Linked DNA regions of Homo sapiens: region 1 is linked to region 2. Evidence: promoter capture Hi-C in human tissues and cell types (Jung and others, 2019). All regions are on one chromosome and are shown on one strand. Each heading gives the region's core, a stretch centred on a gene start or on the middle of the fragment in contact. The rest is flanking DNA. Distances are from core to core; before and after follow the strand shown.

The links. Contacts are between HindIII fragments. The study calls those that stand out against the background at their distance.
Region 1: a contact is called between a fragment that was not itself captured here and the fragment with the promoter of FERD3L in region 2, in 2 of the 25 tissues and cell types used here (neural progenitor cells and thymus).

What each region holds. Positions count from the first base shown.
Region 1 is chr7:19,227,767-19,232,469 of GRCh38, forward strand. No RefSeq gene overlaps it. Among named protein-coding and RNA genes, the nearest start is that of FERD3L, 85 kb to the left of the region's middle. The HindIII fragment of the contact is 5,574 bases long and covers 1-4,703 here.
Region 2 is chr7:19,141,965-19,146,801 of GRCh38, forward strand. It overlaps FERD3L (Fer3 like bHLH transcription factor), which reads right to left and starts at 3,457. Exons shown (of 1, transcript NM_152898.2): 1 at 2,818-3,457. The coding sequence starts at 3,398. The coding sequence ends at 2,898. RefSeq lists enhancers at 2,190-3,389, 3,855-4,503. The HindIII fragment of the contact is 11,409 bases long and covers 1-4,837 here.

The DNA of each region.
Region 1 (4,703 bases), core at 826-3,325, 84 kb after region 2:
GCCTGACTGTTAGAAGGAAAACTAACAAACAGAAAGGAATAGCATCAACATCAACAAAAAGGAAGTCCACACAAAATCCCCATCCAAAGGTCGCCAGCATCAAAGACCAAAAGTAGATAAATCCATGAAGATGAGGAAAAACCAGTGCAAAAAGGCTGAAAATTAAAAAAACAAGAACATCTCTTCTCCTCCAAAGGATCACAACTCCTTGCCAGCAAGGGAGCAAAACTGGATGGAGAATGAGTTTGGCAAATTGACAAAAGTAGGCTTCAGAAGGTGGGTAATAACAAAGTCCTCCGAGCTAAAGGAGCATGTTTGAACCCAATGCAAGGAAGCTAAGAACCTTGAAAAAAGGGTTAGAGGAATTGCTAACAAGAATAACCAGGTTAGAGAAGAACACAAATGACCTAATGGAGGTGAAAAACACAGCATGAGAAGTTCATGAAGAATACCCAAATATCAATAGCCAAATCAATCAAGCAGAAGAAAGGATATCAAAGATTGAAGATTAACTTAATGAAATAAAGCATGAAGACAAGATGAGAGAAAAAAGAATGAAAAGGAACAAACAAAGCCTCCAATAAATATGGGGCTATGTGAAAAGACCAAACCTACGTTTGATTGGTGTACCTGAAAGTGACAGGGAGAATGGAACCAAGTTGGAAAACACTCTGCAGGATATTATCCAGGAGAACTTCCCCAACTTAGCAAGACAGGCCAACACTCAAATTCAAGAAATACAGAGAATACCACAAAGATACTCCTCAAGAAGAGCAACCCCAAAACACATAATCATCAGATTCACCAAGGTTGAAATGAAGGGAAAAATATTAAGGGCAGCCAGAGAGAAAGGTCAGGTTACCCACAAAGGGAAGCACATCAGACTAACAACAGATCTCTCTGCAGAAACTCTACAAGTCAGAAGAGATTGGGGGCCAATATTCAAAACTCTTAAAGAAAAGAATTTTCAGCCCAGAGTTTTATATCCAGCCAAACTAAGCTTCATAAGCAAAGGAGAAATAAAATCCTTTACAGACAAGCAAATGCTGAGAGATTTTGTCACCACCAGGCCTGCTTACAAGAGCTCCTAAAGGAAGCACTAAACATGGAAAGGAAAAACTGGTACCAGCCACTGCAGAAACATACCAAATTGTAAAGAACATTGATGCTATGATGAAACTGCATCAACTAGTGGGCAAAATAATGAGCTAGCGTCATAATGACAGGATAAAATTCACACATAACAATATTAACCTTAAATGTAAATGGGCTAAATGCCCCAATTAAAAGACACAGACTGGAAAATTGGACAAAGAGTCAAGACCCATTGGTGTGCTGTATTCAGGAGACCCATCTCATGTGCAAAGACATACATAGGCTCAAAATAAAGGGATGGAATAATATTTACCAAGCAAATGGGAAACAAACAAAAAAAAACCCCAGGGGTTGCAGTCCTAGTCTCTGATAAAACAGACTTTAAACCAACAAAGATCAAAAAAGACAAAGAAGGCCATTACATAATGGTAAAGGGATCAATGCAACAAGAAGAGCTAACTATCCTAAATATATATGCATCCCTTACAGGAGCAACCGGATTCATAAAGGAAGTTCTTAGAGACCTACAAACAGACTTACACTTACACAATAATAGTGGGAGATGTTAACACCCCACTGTCGATATTAGACAGATCAATGAGACAGAAAATTAACAAGGACATTCAGGACTCGAGCTCAGCTCTGGACCAGGCTGACCTAATAGACATCTACAGAACTCTCCACTCCAAATCAACAGAATATACATTCTTCTCAGCAACACATTGCACTTATTCTAAAATTGATCACATAATTGGAAGTAAAACACTCCTCAGCAAATGCACAAGAATGTAAACCATAACAGTCTCTCAGACCACAGTGCAATCAAATTTGAACTCAGGATTAAGAAACTCACTGAAAATCACACAACTACATGGAAACTGAACATCCTGCTCCGGAATGACTACTGGGTAAATAACAAAATTAAGGCAGAAACAAATAAGTTATTTGAAACCAATGACAACAAAGGCACAATGTACCAGAATCTCTGGGATACAGCTAAAGCACTGTTTATAGAGGGAAATGTATGGCAATAAGTGCCCACAGGAGAAAGCAGGAAAGATCTAAAATCGACACCCAAACATAACAATGAAAAGAACTAGAGAAGCGGGAGGAAACAAATTCAAAAGCTAGCAGAAGACAAGAGATAACTAGGATCAGAGCAGAACTGAGGGAGATAGAGACACGGAAAACCCTTCAAAAAATCAGTGAATCCAGGAGTTGGTTTTCTGAAAAGATCAACAAAATAGACCGCTAGCCAGACTAACAAAGAAGAAGAGAGAGAAGAATAAAAAAGACACAATAAAAAATGATAAAGGGGATATCACCACTGATCCCAGAGAAATACAAACTACCATCAAAGAATACTATAAACACCTCTATGCAAATAAACTAGAAAATCTAGACGAAATGGATAAATTCCTGGATACATACACCCTCCCAAGACTAAACCAGGAAGAAGTCGAATCCCTGAATAGAACAATAACAAGTTCTGAAATTGAGGCAGTAATTAATAGCCTACCAATCAAAAAAAAGCCCAGGACAAGACAGATTCACAGCTGAATTCTACCAGAGGTACAAAGAGGAGCTGGTACCATTCCTTCTGAAACTATCTTTCAATCAATAGAAAAAGAGGGTCTCCTCCCTAACTCATTTTATGAGGCCAGCATCATCCTGATACCAAAACCTGGCAGAGACACAACAAAAAAAAAGAAAATTTCAGACCAATATCCATGATGAACATCGATGCAAAAATCCTCAATAAAATACTGGCAAACTGAATCCAGCAGCACATCAAAAAGCTTATCCACCATGATCAAGTTGGCTTCATGCCTTGGATGCAAGGCTGGTTCAACATACGCAAATCAATAAATGTAATCAATTGCATAAACAGAACCAATGACAAAAACCACATGATTATCTCAATTGACACAGAATAGGCCTTAGAAAAAATTCAACAGCCTGTCATGCTAAAAACTCTCAATAAACTAGGTATTCATGGAACGTATCTCAAAACAATAAGAGCTATTTATGACAAACCCACAGCCGAATGGGCAAAAACTGGAAGCATTCCCTTTGAAAACTGGCACAAGACAAGGATACCCTCTCTCACCACTTGTATTCAACATAGTATTGTAAGTTCTGGCCAGGGCAATGAGGCAAGAGAAAGAAATAAAGGGTGTTCAAATAGGAAGAGAAGAAGTCAAATTGTCTCTGTTTTCAGATGACATGATTGTATATTTAGAAAATCCCATTGTCTCTTCCCAAAATCTCCTTAAGCTGTTAAACAACTTCAGCAAAGTCTCAGGATACAAAATCAATGTGCAAAAATTGCACGCACTCCTATACATCAATAATAGAGAGCCAAATCATGCGTGAACTCCCATTCACAATTGCTTCTACAAAGAGAATAAAATACATAGGAATACAACCCACAAGGGATGTGAAGGACCTCTTCAAGGAGATCTACAAATCACTGCTCAAGGAAATAAGAGAGGACAGAAACAAATGGGAAAACATTACATGCTCATGGATAGGAAGAATCAATATCATGAAAATGGCTATACTGCCCAAAGTAATTTATAGATTCAATGCTATCCCATCAAGCTACCATTGACTTTCTTCACAGAATTAGAAAATAACTACTTTAAATTTCATATGGAACCAAAAAAGAGCCAGGGTAGCCAAGACAGTCCTAGGCGAAAAGAACAAAATTGAAGGCAGCACGCAACCTTACTTCAAACTGTACTACAAGGCTACAGTAACCAAAACAGCATGGCACTGGTACCAAAACAGCTATATAGACCAATGGAATAGAACAGAGGCCTCAGAAATAACACCACACATCTACAACAATCTGGTCTTTGACAAACCTGGCAAAAACAAACAATGGGGAAAGGATTCCCTATTTAATAAATGGTGTTTGGAAAACTGGTTAGCCATATGCAGAAAACTGAAAAGGGACCCCGTTCATTACACCTTATACAAAAATTAACTCAAGACAGATTAAGGACTTAAACGTAAGACCTAAAACCATAAAAACCCTAGAAGAAAACCTAGGCAATACCATTCAGGACGTAGGCATGGGCAAGGACTTCATTGCTAAAACACCAAAAGCAATGGCAACAAAAGCCAAAATAGACAAATGAGATCTAATTAAACTAAAGGGCTTCTGCACAGCAAAAGTAACTATTATCAGAGTGAACAGGCAACCTACAGAATGGGAGAAAATTTTTGCAATCTAACTCTCTGACAAAGGACTGATACCAGAATCTACAAAGAACTTAAACAATTTTACAAGAAAAAAACAAACAATTCCATCAAAAAGTGGGCGAAGGCTACGAACAGACACTTCTCAAAAGGAGACATTTATGCGGCCAACAAAGATATGAAAAAAAGCTCATCATCACTGGTCATTAGAGAAATGAAAATCAAATCCATGATGAGATACCATCTCATGCCAATTAGAATGGCAATCATTAAAAAGTCAGGAAAGAACAGAGGACTGGAGAGGACGTGGAGAAATAGGAATGCTTTTACACTGTTGGGGGGGAATGTAAATTAGTTCAACCATTGTGGAAGACAGTGTGGCGATTCCTCAAGTATCTAGA
Region 2 (4,837 bases), core at 2,207-4,706:
AAATAATGCTTAGAAAAGTTGAGGGTCAAAATATGGAGGTATACTCGATTTAAGTTCAGGACGTGGATCATTTTGTCTTACCTCTATTGGCATTTGATGAAAGGAATGTCAATCCCTTTCTATGTGACTCTGATCCTTACCTGGGTTCAAATTACTCTGAGTAAAATTATTATGAAAATATCTTAAAAGACTACATTTGAGGCAGTTCCTAAACATGTAAACTTACAAATAGCAAAGCATTTATAAACGATTAAAGTTTTTTTTTTTAAGAAGGGTGGATAATTCCTCTGTTGATAATAAGAAAATAACTTTTAATTTAGAAGTTTTTTAGGTATCATTTACTATGATGAAGAGGTATTCACTGGAGGAATATTATTTGCTTTCTAGGAACAAAATGTATTAGAATATGATGGAGAAGACTAACGAAAACGGGTGGCTGTGCTGACTCCTCACGACTTAGGAATGTTGATGGTCCCTGGTCTACACAATTTTGCTTTATTTCTGGTTTTCAAAACTTGTTCTTTCAGCAAAATATTAAGAATTCCTAGATTGGAATTACTTTTTTTTCTTTTTATTTATTCAACACTTTCAGATGATTTTTTAAAAAAGAATGATGTTTAATTTCCAGGAGAAATTGAATTGGTGGAAGAATAAGAAAAAACAACACTCTATGGGGCTTTGTTGTTGTTTGGTGTTAGCTGTTTATGTATTTTTTTTTTGTTTACCTGTTTATCCTGATGTTCTTACGGTGCAGTTGAAAAAATTCTTGGTGGAAAGACACAGTAAAAGTAAAAAAACATCTTGGGAGTGGGGGCTCGTTTCAGAACTAATCCAGGTCCTATGAAAAGGAAAACTAAGAAAAGTTTTAAATATTCGAAGTACTAATGAAGGGGCTGGGAAACAGGCAAATCCCTGCAATGCTAGAGGGTGGGAGAGTGAACTGGCAGAACCCACCAAGAAGGGAATCTGGCCATTTATATCCACAAACTTGAATCCAGAAATTTCACTTCTAGGTATCAAATGTTAGGAAGTAATAATAGACAGAGAAGGCATTTACAAGAATGCTCTTAGCAGCATCATTTATTTTTTAAAAAGGAAATAGCTATCTATCTGGAAAGGGCTGGTGGTGGTGTGATACATGGATAAGACAATAAGATATGGTAATCAAAATCACATTTGAATAATATTAAAGTTAAGGGAAAACATTGCACCTTCTATAATGCCAAGTGGAAAAATATCAGTATCCCAAAGTATCTCGAATTAGTAAAATATATTGAATTTATAACTGCACAGGGAAAAAAAGACTGGAAAGAAATAGATGAAAATGCTAACAGTATGGTAACGTGGAGTGATTCGAATTTTCTCTTTTTTGAAATTTTTTTTTCCAAAATTTCTAGGATGAGTATATGTTACTTATTAATGAAATGAATTCTATTTCCGAAAGCATGATTAAGAGAATTGTGTGTTCGCACAGGCTCCCGCCTATTTCTGTGTGCAATGAGGGGCGAAATAAAGTGTTGGAATAATCACTGGGGATTATCCTTTAGGATTACTGAATTTATGTTTAGGTTGGCATTATTCAATCGGGTTCCTCGCCTCAGTTACCCACTCCTTTCTGAAAGACCCCAGTTCTGGTACTAGCACGTCACCTAGAAGGAAGAATCCTGGAATGGCACGGGTCCAAACTAGAGGCGGCCTCTCAGCATGGACCCGCTTCAACCTCATCTGCATGGCAGGCGTTTTGCAAGGCGTCAGAAGGCATCTCCTCTTTGGACTTTTTGTCTCCCCTGGTAGTCTCTAGAAGCCATTAGAGTGAAAGCTATCTTTCCTACCTACAGCTAAAAATGTAAAAGTGAGCGCGCTCAGGCGGCCCTGCTCCTAGAAAGATCCAGGCCCCTTCATACCCCAACCCCTGGCCGGGGACAGTTGGTAGCGGTGGCTGGTGGCGAAGCTGCAGGGCGCCCAAGGCCCCCTGCGGCCCAGGAGTGACCCGAGTGCACTCGCCCCTTACTCTGGCCTGGGGCCTGAAGAAGGCACTGGAACACGGAAGCTGATGCTGCACTTTAGATGCAAAGCGTAGATTTGCACTCTGGCTAAGGCACTGAATGAACACCACTGTGGCCCTGGGACAAGGAGCTGTGGTCCGTCTGGGATCAACTAGGTGGCGAAGGGGAGGGAGAAAGGAAGAGAGAGGGCTTGCGCGCGGGAGAGAGGAAGGGACGGGAGGGAGAGGGAATGGAAGACAGGAAGGGTGTCCCTTCTCAGAGGTCGCACTTTGTCAGCAGTTCCTCTCGACTGCTCTGCCTTCCATTTTTCCTTTCCTCAGTTCCTGGACAAGCCTCGGAGGACCAGGCAGAACCCTCTGGCTAGCAGAAAAGCTCGCACCCCCGCACCCTTGCGGCGTCTGCTTCAGACCCTCCACGCAGGCGCCCGCTGGAGCGCCTGCTGGGGATGGCGTACCACCGACCCTTCAGGCTTTTTAAAAACGTAAGAATTTCTACTTTATTATCTCTATGAAAAAAAAAATGTAAAGAAGAGAGGTTAGATTTTATAGAAGCTCCAAAGTCTGCCATTTGCGAGGAGGGTTCACTTCCCACCCACCCAGCCCACGGAAGCTCTTAGGAGCAGCCTGAACGGCCCCGACTCAGCCTCACGCTCTCTGACTTCCCCGCTCGCCCCTGACCCCGACTTCACTTAGGGCGGTCGCGTAGATATGAACTCTACAGCAGCCACTCTGCTCAGCGCATGTGGGGATCTTACAATCTCGACCCCGACCTCCAGAAGACCAGACGTTCTGTCTTGGGGCCTCCCTCCCGGCCCTTTAGCCTCACCCAGTGCCCGGTCCTGACACACCCCAGCACTACCAGACGAGGAAGGGCAGACTCTCCACACCAGGCTCAGCCGCTTTCCTTCTTCTCACAGCTCTCCAAGAGCTCGGTCATGAAGGAGATATAGACGATGGCCAGGCGGAGGGTCTCGATCCGGGACAGCCTTTTCTCGTAAGCAAACGTGGGCACCTTCCTCCGCAGCTGGTCAAAGGCCTCGTTGAGGTTGAACATCCGCTTCCTTTCGCGGATGTTGGCGGCCTGGCGCTGGGCGTAGGTGATCACCCTTTTCCTCTTGGGGCGGCCTAATAGGGAGACACCTCTTCCGCGCTCCTCTTCCTCCTCCTCTTCTCCGTCCCCCTGGTCCACTTCGCACTCCTCTTCTTCTGGGTCCCCCTCTTCAAACCGCGCCATCCTCCTGGGTCTTCCCTCTCGGAGCGCAAGGGCTGGGTCCCCCAAGGAGACCCCGGGTGCGAAGTCGCAGAGGAGAGGGCGTCTCGGGGAGGCCAGGGACAGGTCTGCGACGAAGTCCAGCACCGTAGTGTCCACGCAGCTCTCCGGATAGGCCGCCATCGCTTCGGCTTGGCCCTGCCTCTCATCGGTTTTCCGCAGGGAGGGGCGAGGTTGCTGGTGGGGATTCTTAACAGCCTTGAATCTGATGGGGCACCATCACCGAAAGGCCAGGGAACATTAAATATTTATAACCAAGCTGATAACAGGATTAGTCGCACCGATAAGGAATGCTCTGACAACGTCCCTTCTCTCGAAGCTTATGGAAGATGACAAGCTTGAGCACGCATGGAAGACTCAAAGGGACAGGGCTCCAGTTCTGAGATCCTTTTCTCTGCGCCACCCGGGACAGTTCCTTGTTGGCAACAACCCCCAGCTCTTACCTGCTGTGCTTTTTGTGTCTGTCTTCACCCCTGCAGCCAACTAATGTTCTCCAGGCTCCTTATCTCGTGTAGTTCTTTAATTTCGTGTTGGATTTTCAAAGCGAGGATGTTTTCCACCGCGATGGCTTCTCCTTGACTTCAGGGTAGGAGTCTTGAATCTTGCCACCATCTGCCAATGGATGTGGAGCAAGTGCATGTGCTTTTAATGATGTCCTGAAGAGGGGCCCTGCCTGCCTGGCATCAAGGGGAGCTGTTTGTCTGGTATCCCAGTGCAGCGGCTGCTGAAAGGCAAGACCTTCAATTAGCTTAAGTAAGCATGGCAGGGGGACCGAGAGTGCATTCCCCAGAGTCGCTGTTGGAACCGGCTTTCTTTTCTTTCCAGGGCATCGCAAACAGCTCTCCTGCCACGTTACAAACCCTGACTTCTAAAGTCTGTTTGGATGCAATCAGCGTAACAATTGAGATACTTGACTTTCCTTTCCCTACCTTTACCTCCTACTCATATAAAATAGAGGATTTTATTCCAAGAGGAAAAGTTATGATGGCAATAAAATGAGAAATTTAAGCTCAGGATATTTTCTATGCTCGGGCTTTGCTGTATACTTTTCAGTGTGGGGGACAAAGCAAACTCTCCTCACAAACAAAACCACTTCAAGCTCTTTTCAGAAATGCGATTTGCCCTTGATAAGCCAAAGAGTCAATCAGCTCACCCTCTGCTGAGGAGTCTTCGGACTTTTAAATTGCGGATCGAGTATTTGTTCCCGAACAAAGAAAAAAACCTAACACTTCCATCTGGCGTATTTTCCTCATTGATTTGTATTGTCCTACAGTAAGACTTAAGTGCAGAAACAATGATTTATTGAAATATATTTAAGGGAGTTTTTGGCTATCGTTAGATCGTTATTTTTGAGAAAAGAAAGAGATTTTAAATTTGGCATAAGAAAAATAAGAGATTACTCATTTTATATTATCTCGAGTATCCCAAATATTTTAACAAAAAGGTTCTTTTTCTTTGTTTGCCAATAACTATATTTACTTAATTATTCAGTACTGTGTAAAGATTTATTTAAAAGACCCATTGTGTCAAAGTGACAGATTAGAAGATAATTTTAAAGGTAG